3 separate regions of the Homo sapiens genome follow, and all the other regions are linked to region 3. The links are contacts of gene promoters, found by promoter capture Hi-C in blood cells and fetal thymus (Javierre and others, 2016). All regions are on one chromosome and are shown on one strand. The core of a region is centred on a gene start or on the middle of the fragment in contact, and the rest is flanking DNA. Distances in the headings are between cores, read along the strand shown. Region 1 holds the start of LINC02910 (long intergenic non-protein coding RNA 2910). Region 2 holds the start of SYCP2 (synaptonemal complex protein 2). Region 3 overlaps CDH4 (cadherin 4).

Region 1 (2,781 bases), core at 177-2,676, 1.2 Mb before region 3:
GTTGGATTTTTAAAAATACTCTTCTATAATTTCTAAATTTTATGCCCTGAGGATGTATTACCTCCATAGTCAGAAAAATTATGAAAGGTATTTAAAACCCAAACTGGCTTTGGGCATGCAGAATGCTTGGTTATTTCTGAAGTATAAAAATAACTCCCCCTCTGTCCCATCAGCACGCGTGTTGCAGGGAGTCTGACGTTGCTCGCTAAGTCTCTTTGGTCGTTTCATACTAATGCCCTTTGCTCCCCTGATTATCTCTCTGAGGTTGGGGCCGGGGGATGGGGGTGTGCTAGGCCTCCTGGATGTCTGTCTGCTGCCAAAACATCCTCTCCTGTCTCTGTCTCATTGGTGCATTTTGATGAACCTGTATTGCCTGGTCACTGCGCGCTAACCACCAAATTATGAAACATTTGTGCTGCAAGGGAGCTGAGAGATCCTTAAACTCAATGAACCATTAGGCATAAGACACACACACACACATACACACGTGAATACACACAAACACACAAACAGCTTGGCTGCTCTGGGTGAAGCATGTGTGTGTTTGGGGGAAATTTCCTTCCCCACCCGTGGTCGTCCATTTGCCCATGAGCAGCTTCCGAGGCAGGTCCGTGGACCCCAACGCTGTGTAACACCGTGTGAAAAACACAAAGGCTTGCAGCCCTCTCACTGCAGACGTGGGAACACGACTCTGTTTAAAACCCTTCAAAGCCCGCCTTCTTGCCGTGTGATGCTGCCTGGGCCAGCAGGGCAGGTCACCACGCTGTCTCTTCAAAGCAGCTCGCTCATGCCCACAGCGCTGGGCACAAGGGCAGCCACGAGCTGTTTGATTTCTGCGTCCCCAGCAGATGGCTTGGTGCACAGGGGCAGGGCTCGTCTGTCCCTCTCACTGCTGCGTCCCAGGCTATGTCTCCACCATGTAACTTCAGACAAGTTCCTCAGCGTCTCTGTGTCCTGGTTCCCTCATTTGTAACATCAGGATATTGATAAGGATCATAGTAATAGGGATGTCCTTATGGGGCCTCATGAAAATGAAGAGTTCTCTGTGATGTGCCTGGAACCACAGAGGGCAGCAAGTGGGAGCCACAGAAAGTCATCTCTTTATCATAGTTGTCATTGGTAACTATGACGGTTATCAAGGGCAGGGGTCTCCCACCTTCTGCATCCAGGCCTTGTCATTCCTTATAAAATTTTCTCCTTTCAAGGACTTTCAATGCCCTGAAAACGGAATGCTCCTCCCTGCTCCCCATCAGCTGCTGCAGAGCCCTGAACCCCTTGAACTTGCCTTGCTTAGTTCTTTCAGGGGCTGCCTTGGATGCCACCTCACTTCCCTCTTCTTGGCTCTGTGGCTGTCAGAGGGGCTGGGCACTGGGTTACTTCATCAGTTCCTGGGTGTTGATCGGCAGGAAACAGTGGTTTCCTGTTCATATCCTGCCTGAGCCTGGGCCGGGTGGAGGTGTCCTGCATGGAGTCTTGTGAAATCGCGTGGACTGCAACACCCAGCAGCGCGGTGAGTCCACCCTGAAATCCACAGTGACCCACGCGGCATGTGCTGGGAATTGAACGCTTGGGGAAAGAGCTGGGCTCCAGCGGATCAGCCCCGACCAAGTCGTTCCCACAGCTCAGGACCGGACGCTACAAGCCCACTTTGTAGCAGTTTGGCGGACGGCAAACTTTTGCAACACAGTGCAAAAACCATTTAACACCTTTAAGGGAATTGGAAATGGGTTTTTCATGTGTGGTGGTGCTGAAAATTGAGAATAATGACAGAATTATTAAAAACAGCCTTCTCGGCCTTAGACTCTTAATTGCCTCTGGTCTGTAAAACTGACAAATAAGCACTGTAGAAGCCACAGATGAAATATGTCGTCTTGGGAGCCCTGGAGAATTGTCTCTGAATTCTTTTGTTTATGGATTGTAGAAACTGCTTTGGGGGTAGTTGGATGTAGAAGCAGAAGGACAGAGTGGGGAGCTGGGAGCAGGAGGCCTGGGTTTGTCTCCTGAGTCTGTTTCCACTGGGGCCTGAGGCTCCCGTGTGAGGGAACATGAATGGGCCAGGCACATGGGCCCTGTGGGGTGACAGAGCTGTGGGCTCCATGGTGGCTCTGTGGGCAGCTAGCTTGGGGATGGCTGAGATAAAGACAAGTAGTTTTCCTTCCTGCAGGACTTCTCAGAGCCTTTAGTGTGGTTATAATGATAGAAAACAGTATTAAGTCCATACCCTGAACCAGAAACAATGCTAAAAGCTTTGCACTTGGCCTTTTTTTTTCTTTTTCTTTTATCAACATGTGTGAGGACGGAAGCTTAGGCTTACAGATATGGACTCATTGAGAGTGAGTGGACGTGTCTGATCTTTAACCCAGTTCTGTCTGACCAAAAAGCCTGTGCTCTAACCACTGTGCACCCCTGCCTGTCTGTCCTGTTGAGAGAACTGTAGGGAAAGCCTTGAGATTATGTATCCAGTGCTCCCCTCCTCCTGATTGGAAGATGGCAGCTCAGAAGGTTAGGGTGCCTTCTCCTGTCCTCCGAGTGGTTAGATGCACGTGTCCTCTTCTGTCCTCTGCTCTTCCCACATCCCTCTCTCTCTGGTGCTCTGGTGGAGCCCCTGGGATCAGGGGTCACAGGAGCACCTGGGCCATTTGCATGGTTGTTGGTAAAGGGTGTTCCCCCACCCCCCATTAAGGTGCCTGCCATCAAAGTGCCTTATTGCTTGAGTTCCAATCTCGGCTTCACAACTCTGTAGCTGTGTGACTTTGCACAATGTACTGAGCCTCTCTGTGC
Region 2 (2,928 bases), core at 112-2,611, 1.3 Mb before region 3:
TAATTCAAAGTCCCCTCTGCCCTGGTAACTAACATAGCTAAGGTGTCCAAAAAGACATTAAAGGTGAATGAAGGGGAGGGAAGGCGTCCTCCTCCTCCCATCATTACTAAAAAATGTAGGCCGGGCGAGGTGGCTCACACCTGTAATCCCAGCACTTTGGGAAGCCGAGGCAGGTGGATCACCTGAGGTCAGGAGTTCGAGACCAGCCGGGCCAACATGGAGAAAACCCGTCTCTACTAAAAATACAAAATTAGCTGGGCGTGGTGGCGCGCCAAGTAGTCCCAGTTACTCCGGAGGCTGAAGCAGGAGAATCGCTGGAACCCGGAAGATGGAGGTTGCAGTGACGCGAGATCGCACCACTAAACTCCAGCCTGGGTGACAGAGCGAGACTCCGTCTCGGGAAAAAAAACAACAAAAAAAAACCACGCTGCCGTATTCGCAGATGCTCGGCCAGCCTGGAGCCCGGTCCAGAAAAGGCCGCACGTGGAGCCACGTGTCGCGCATTGAGCCGCCGCGGGACGCATCAGGCCCAGCTGCGCGGAGGGGCTGGCGGCCTCAACCGCAAGGAGAGGCCGCAGGTGGGGACGGCGGGAGGGAGAGAAGGGACTGAAGGCGCCGAGCAGGAGGAAGGTTTTGCGCGCACTCCCTTCTTCCCTAAGTGGAACCGGCAGTGGCAACAACGAGGCCGAAGGCGAAGTCCCTGCTCCCACCGCCGGCACGGTGACCCTTTTCCCAGGGTCACCCCCGAACCAACAAAGCACACACACACCCGAGATGCGCCCCAGGCCGCAGCGCCAACCCCCCTTCAGATGTCCCGGAGACAGGCGAGCAGCGGTCCCCAGGGCTCCCGTCGCCACCGCTTCTCCCGCACCCCTCAGCCTCCTCGGGCCGGCGACGCGCGCAGCCCCAGGCCTGCTCCCCGCTCGCCAAGCGCACCGCCCCGCGCCTCAGCCACCTTGACCGAGTCGCCCACGCGCGGGGGCGGCTCCGAGCGCCCATTTCCCATCCCCGAGGCCGAGGCTGGCCAGGCAGGTGCTGATGGGGAGCCTCGCGCCTGCGCGAGCCACCCTCGCCGCGAACTCTGCACAGCCCACGCCCTGGCCCAGCCTCGGCGCCTCCCCTCCGCCCACTGCCGCAGAACCGCACCCCCTCCCCCTCGGCAGCTTCCACAACGGCTCCGCCTCAACCGTCGGAAGCTTCTCGCCTGCCGGCTTGAAAGGCCAAGCCGAAGCCCCACCCTCCCTCCGCGCCCCGCCGTGGGGGAAGCCCACCCAGGCACTCTGCTCAACCTGCCTGCGGCAGGAGGCGTCCGCGTAGTGTCGGTGGAGCCGCCCCCTATGCCGCCGAGCGTCGCAACTCTGCGCCTCAGGGACCGCCGCAGCGCCTCCGGCGAACGGCGGAAGGCGGGAAGCGCCCGTCCAATCCGCGCCAGGTGCGGTCGATAGTGCGTCCAATCGGCGTCGCCGCCAGCCAGGTCCCGCCCCCCCCATCCCCCCCACCCCCGCCAACGCTCGCCGGGGTCGCCCGAGGCCTGAGCCAAGGGGGACGCTGTGGGCGCGGCTCAGGCCAGGCCCTCAGGTTAGTGGGTCCCCGCTGTCCCCGCGCTTCGGCCCGTCCTCTCGCGCTATGCTCTCCTGATGAACGCCCCGCGAGCGGAGTCACCCCCGCCAGCGAGGAGACTCGCTGCCTTGACTGGGGCCCTGGTCCCGGGACAGGCGAGCAGGAAGGGATGGAAGGGACGGAAGCGCGGGCGGGACCAGGAGAAGCCCATCCCCGCGCTATGCGTCCCCAGAGCCACTGGGACCCGCGGCTCCAGCCAGCCCTGCAGGGGCGAGCTGGACCGGGGGACCAGGGCGCCGGGCCGACGACTCCTGGGTGAGGCCTGGCTCCTGCCGGCAGGGGGCGCAGGGCCGCCTGGGCTCCTGGGTGCGGGTGCCGGAGGGCGGGAGAGACCGCAGGTCCGGAGACGGGGTGCTGAGCTGGGTACCCAACTGTGTATTCCTAGGCTCTTTCAGACGCTTCCATTTAAGAGATCCGTTTAACTTATGCAGCCAGCGGGTGCTTGTGTAAAAAATCGCAGGCCCTTCTGAGACAGGCACAGCCGCGAAAGGGTCTCCTTGCCCCTTGGCTCGCAGAGGGCGTCGGTGTTCGGCGCTCAGTCTTCTGCGTGTTTTCCCCGTGCTCGCGTTCTGAGATGGAAACTGTTCCACGTGCACTGAGATGCAGCTCGGTCTTTCTAACAGCTTCGTAATTATTTAATCATGTGGATTAACTTCATCCGAGGAATTCAATCCTCCACTGATGAGCCTACACTTCTATTACAAATAATACTGCAGCAAACCACCTTTGGATTAATATTTGTGTCGGATCAATTTTTAAAAGTTGAATTGTATGTGTAGTTAAACTTTTATAGGTATCTTCAAATCAAAATTTAAAATTATATTTTAATAACATTTTAATTTCTTATCTAAAAGGCACTAATTGTTTAAAAATATGGGATTAAGATTTAAATGTGCGGTGGAAAGCACCTGAAAAAAATAAACACAAGGTAATAGAATCAAAGCTCAGTTGTGGACCAGAGCAGATCAAATCACAGTAAATAAGCTCTCAGAGGTGTTTTAAATATTCTGCTTAGCTAGAATTACCAACTTCTTGACAACTTTGTAACTACCCCCATTGAACTTAATTTTGATATCTTAGTTTTTTAATTCAGAGCTGACAGATTACATATGCAATCTAAGGTACACAGGTGTACGCAGGGATTTGAGGGGATTTTATATGTTCAAAGCTTTCAATGCTTTTGAATTATACGTTTAAGTACTAATAATGTATAACACAAAATGTAAGAAGATCGAAGAGTGCTTCAAAATTGTGACCTGGCAATTTTGCATAATTATTTTCATACCTAGTTTTCCGCCAATAGATCTA
Region 3 (2,933 bases), core at 302-2,801:
TCCTAACCGCTGCTTCTCTATGCTCACTGCCACTAAGCAGACCCCCTTCATTGTAGAAGGCAGTGCATGCACCAGCTACAGAAATGAGGATGTGTGAACTCACTGACGCTGTGACTTAAAGATTCAGGTTTTGCGTTTGAGAAATATGTGTTTTAATGAGTCTTCAGATGAGGGAGCATGAGGCTTTGCAGAATTATAATATAATAACATTATGTTCTGTCCAGTCCTTGGTATACGATATCTCATTTAACTTTCACAAAAGCCCTTCCAGGGAGGTAAAATTGTTCTCATTTTATGGATCAGTAACTGATGATCGGTGAGTTCTGGAGATTGGCCTAAGGGTAGGAGATTTGCTCTGTTTTCCCTCTTTGTGCAGTCCTAGGCACTTAGCTCATTCCTATCTCCAAATTAATGTTAAAGAAGATGGTTTTAGAGCACCACTGTCACGTGCAGACAGGATCGGACCCAGATGTTCAGGGCCACAGCCATAAGACCAGCAGTGACCAGGCACACAGGTATGTGCAGTAAACAGAGGCCCTCAGTGTGTCAGAAAGTGCTTGGTTGCAGTTGCTCATGTATAAGGCTCAACTGAAGTGGGTCTAAACTCTCGACACCGGGGGTTTGCAAAACCAGCCCTGGGATTAGAAGAGCCCGCGGCTTCTGTGATGCCAGTGGGAGCTTTCAATTCTGAGCATGCAGCGAGCAGTCCCAGAGCCGAGCTCTCTCTCGGATTTTAGACTCTGCCAGCGCTGGGGAAGCCGGGCAGAGAGGGAGCAGAGAGAAGAGTCCGGCTGGTCCTGGAAGCCCTGAGCACGTTCCATCTGAGCTGGGTTTATGCACGGATCCATTGTTGTCAACACTCACGTTGTGACATGGGGCACCAGGAACCTTAGTGAGGCCGGTTACAGATTGAGAGAAAGTGCCACGACTGTGCAGCTGGCCAGCCGGGGCGGGGCTCCCTGACGGCCTCTCTTGAGCTGATGCCGTGAGAGCTGGTCCTGAGGCTGCCGTGGCCTTTCTGCCCATGTCGGGGTCCTGGGTGTCTGCAGAGATCTCGTACTCTAAGCTGAGAGAGAGCAAGGTGCTTGGTATAACTTGAAACAGTCTGAAGATGTGGTGCTTTCCGAGGTTCACGTGGGTTCCCGTTTTCTGCCAAAACCCCTTGCGGCGAAGCCCCTTTGCACGCTTTTGCCTCCAGGGGTGGCCTTCCTGGGCGCAGGGTCACTTCCACTCTGGGACTGCGTGGCGACTGGGTTGGTGTAAGCTTCCAAGACCTGTGGCTTCTTTGTTTCAGAAATAATGATTTTTCTAATTCTACCCTGCAGTGTTAAAAAATCACAATGAAATTCATAACCAAGTTCAAAGGAAGTGTATTTGGTGTGTGCATCCCTGTATTGTGTGCTCCATGACACTAATTTCAAAATGTGGAAATTTTGTGACTTCTCTTATGTTGCAAATGGAGGTGGATAAAGGAAAGGGCTTTTTCCTCCTTACCTCCTTACCTCCCACCCTCCTTCCTCCTTCCCTCTCTCCTCCCTCCCTCCTTCCCTCCTTTCCTCTCTTCCCTCTCCCCTTCCCTCCCCTTCCCCTCCCTCCCTCCCTTCCTTCCACCCTCTCTCCCTTGCTCTCTCCCTCCCTCCCTTCCTCCTTTCCTTCCTTTCTTTTTTCTTTGAAAGCTGGGTTAAGTAGATGCCAGGACTAATCATGAACTGAGAGAGAGAGAGAGAGAGAGCAAGCAAGCATTCATCTTTTCAAAAAGTGTGCCTATTATTCTGACTTTTTGAAGAAGTAATTTCTCCTCCAAGTGAATTCCACTATAAAAAATACCATAAGCCGAATGAAGCTTCTTTCCGTCAAGGGCGGTAAAGTTCTCCCCGGTGTGTTCTTGTAAAACCTCATGGCATTTGCAGGCTCCTTCAGTCCCCAGAGTGGGACTGTGGTGTCTGGCAAGCTGGGCTGGTAAAATCCTTGGTTTTTCGTCAAAAGGCTCAGAATTTTGGTGCCTTTTTGCCCGGGCTCTGGGCTGCCCTCTCCTGGTGGCCTCCGGTATTGTCTCTGGCTGGTGTCTGCTTTCAGTTCTTAAACAAAAGAGAACAAACCAACCAAAAATCCCTATTTAATTATCTTTGACCCAGTATGTGCTCCCCGAGGCCATTTTCCTGGCAACCCCCACATCAGGGGCCAGGAAGGAGGGGAGGAGCTGTTGTTTGGGGGGACTTACCATGTGCCAATGTGTCTTCTCATTTAACGCTGTCAGGAGACCTGCAGCCTAAGGTAGTTAGAAGGCATGCCCCAGATCACTCGGTATGGGCAGGGGACTTTGTCTGTATGTTTTTATCTCCCACACTGCCTTTTCCAGGAGGAATTTACTTAGATTACAAATTGTATTATTTTCTTATTGCAGTATAAATCCCCACATATGTAGCAGCTTAAACAACACAAAGTTATTATCTTGTGGTTCTGAAGGTCAGAAGTCCAGCTCCAGTCCCTGTGCTGAAATCAAGGTGTCTGCAGGGTGGGTTCCTTCTGGAGGCTCCTGGGGAGAATCTGTCTCCTTGTGCCTCCCAGCTCCTCAGGGCTCCTGCACTCCTTGGCTCCTGGCCGCTTCCTCCGTCTTCAGAGCCAGCCGTGAAGCATCTCTGTGCCGTCCTCCAGGGTCATTGAGGGTCACTGGTCACATCCACCTCTCTCTACATCCTTCTCTTCCACTTGTAAGAATCCCTGTGATTACCTTGGGCCTCCCTGAGTAACCCAGGATAATCTCCCGTTGCAAGACTCTTAATTCAGTCACCTCTGCCAAGTCCCCACTACCACGTGAGATCCCAGGCTCACAGCCTCCGGAATTAGGATGGGGACATCTCTGGGGAGTCGTGATTCTGCTGACCACATGCGTGTCTGACGACAGAGCAATCCTAGCAGGTGTGTGTGGGAGT

What was found. Contacts are between HindIII fragments. The CHiCAGO score rates a contact against its expected background, and 5 or more counts as called.
Region 1: the fragment with the promoter of LINC02910 here is called in contact with a fragment that was not itself captured in region 3 in 1 of 17 cell types (endothelial precursors); the score reaches 5.9 in endothelial precursors.
Region 2: a contact is called between the fragment with the promoter of SYCP2 here and a fragment that was not itself captured in region 3, in 1 of 17 cell types (total CD8 T cells). The highest score is 6.0, in total CD8 T cells.

Annotation. Positions count from the first base shown.
Region 1 is chr20:60,054,499-60,057,279 of GRCh38, forward strand. It overlaps LINC02910 (long intergenic non-protein coding RNA 2910), which reads left to right and starts at 1,427. Exons shown (of 4, transcript NR_161293.1): 1 at 1,427-1,510. The HindIII fragment of the contact is 13,245 bases long and covers 1-2,244 here.
Region 2 is chr20:59,932,276-59,935,203 of GRCh38, forward strand. SYCP2 (synaptonemal complex protein 2) reads right to left here and starts at 1,362. Exons shown (of 45, transcript NM_014258.4): 1 at 1,294-1,362. It also overlaps a transcript of FAM217B not described here. RefSeq lists a silencer at 1,653-2,052. The HindIII fragment of the contact is 1,592 bases long and covers 1,195-2,786 here.
Region 3 is chr20:61,261,254-61,264,186 of GRCh38, forward strand. The region is part of intron 2 of CDH4 (cadherin 4); the gene reads left to right. Among named protein-coding and RNA genes, the nearest start is that of CDH4, 10 kb to the left of the region's middle. RefSeq lists an enhancer at 991-1,502. The HindIII fragment of the contact is 579 bases long and covers 1,263-1,841 here.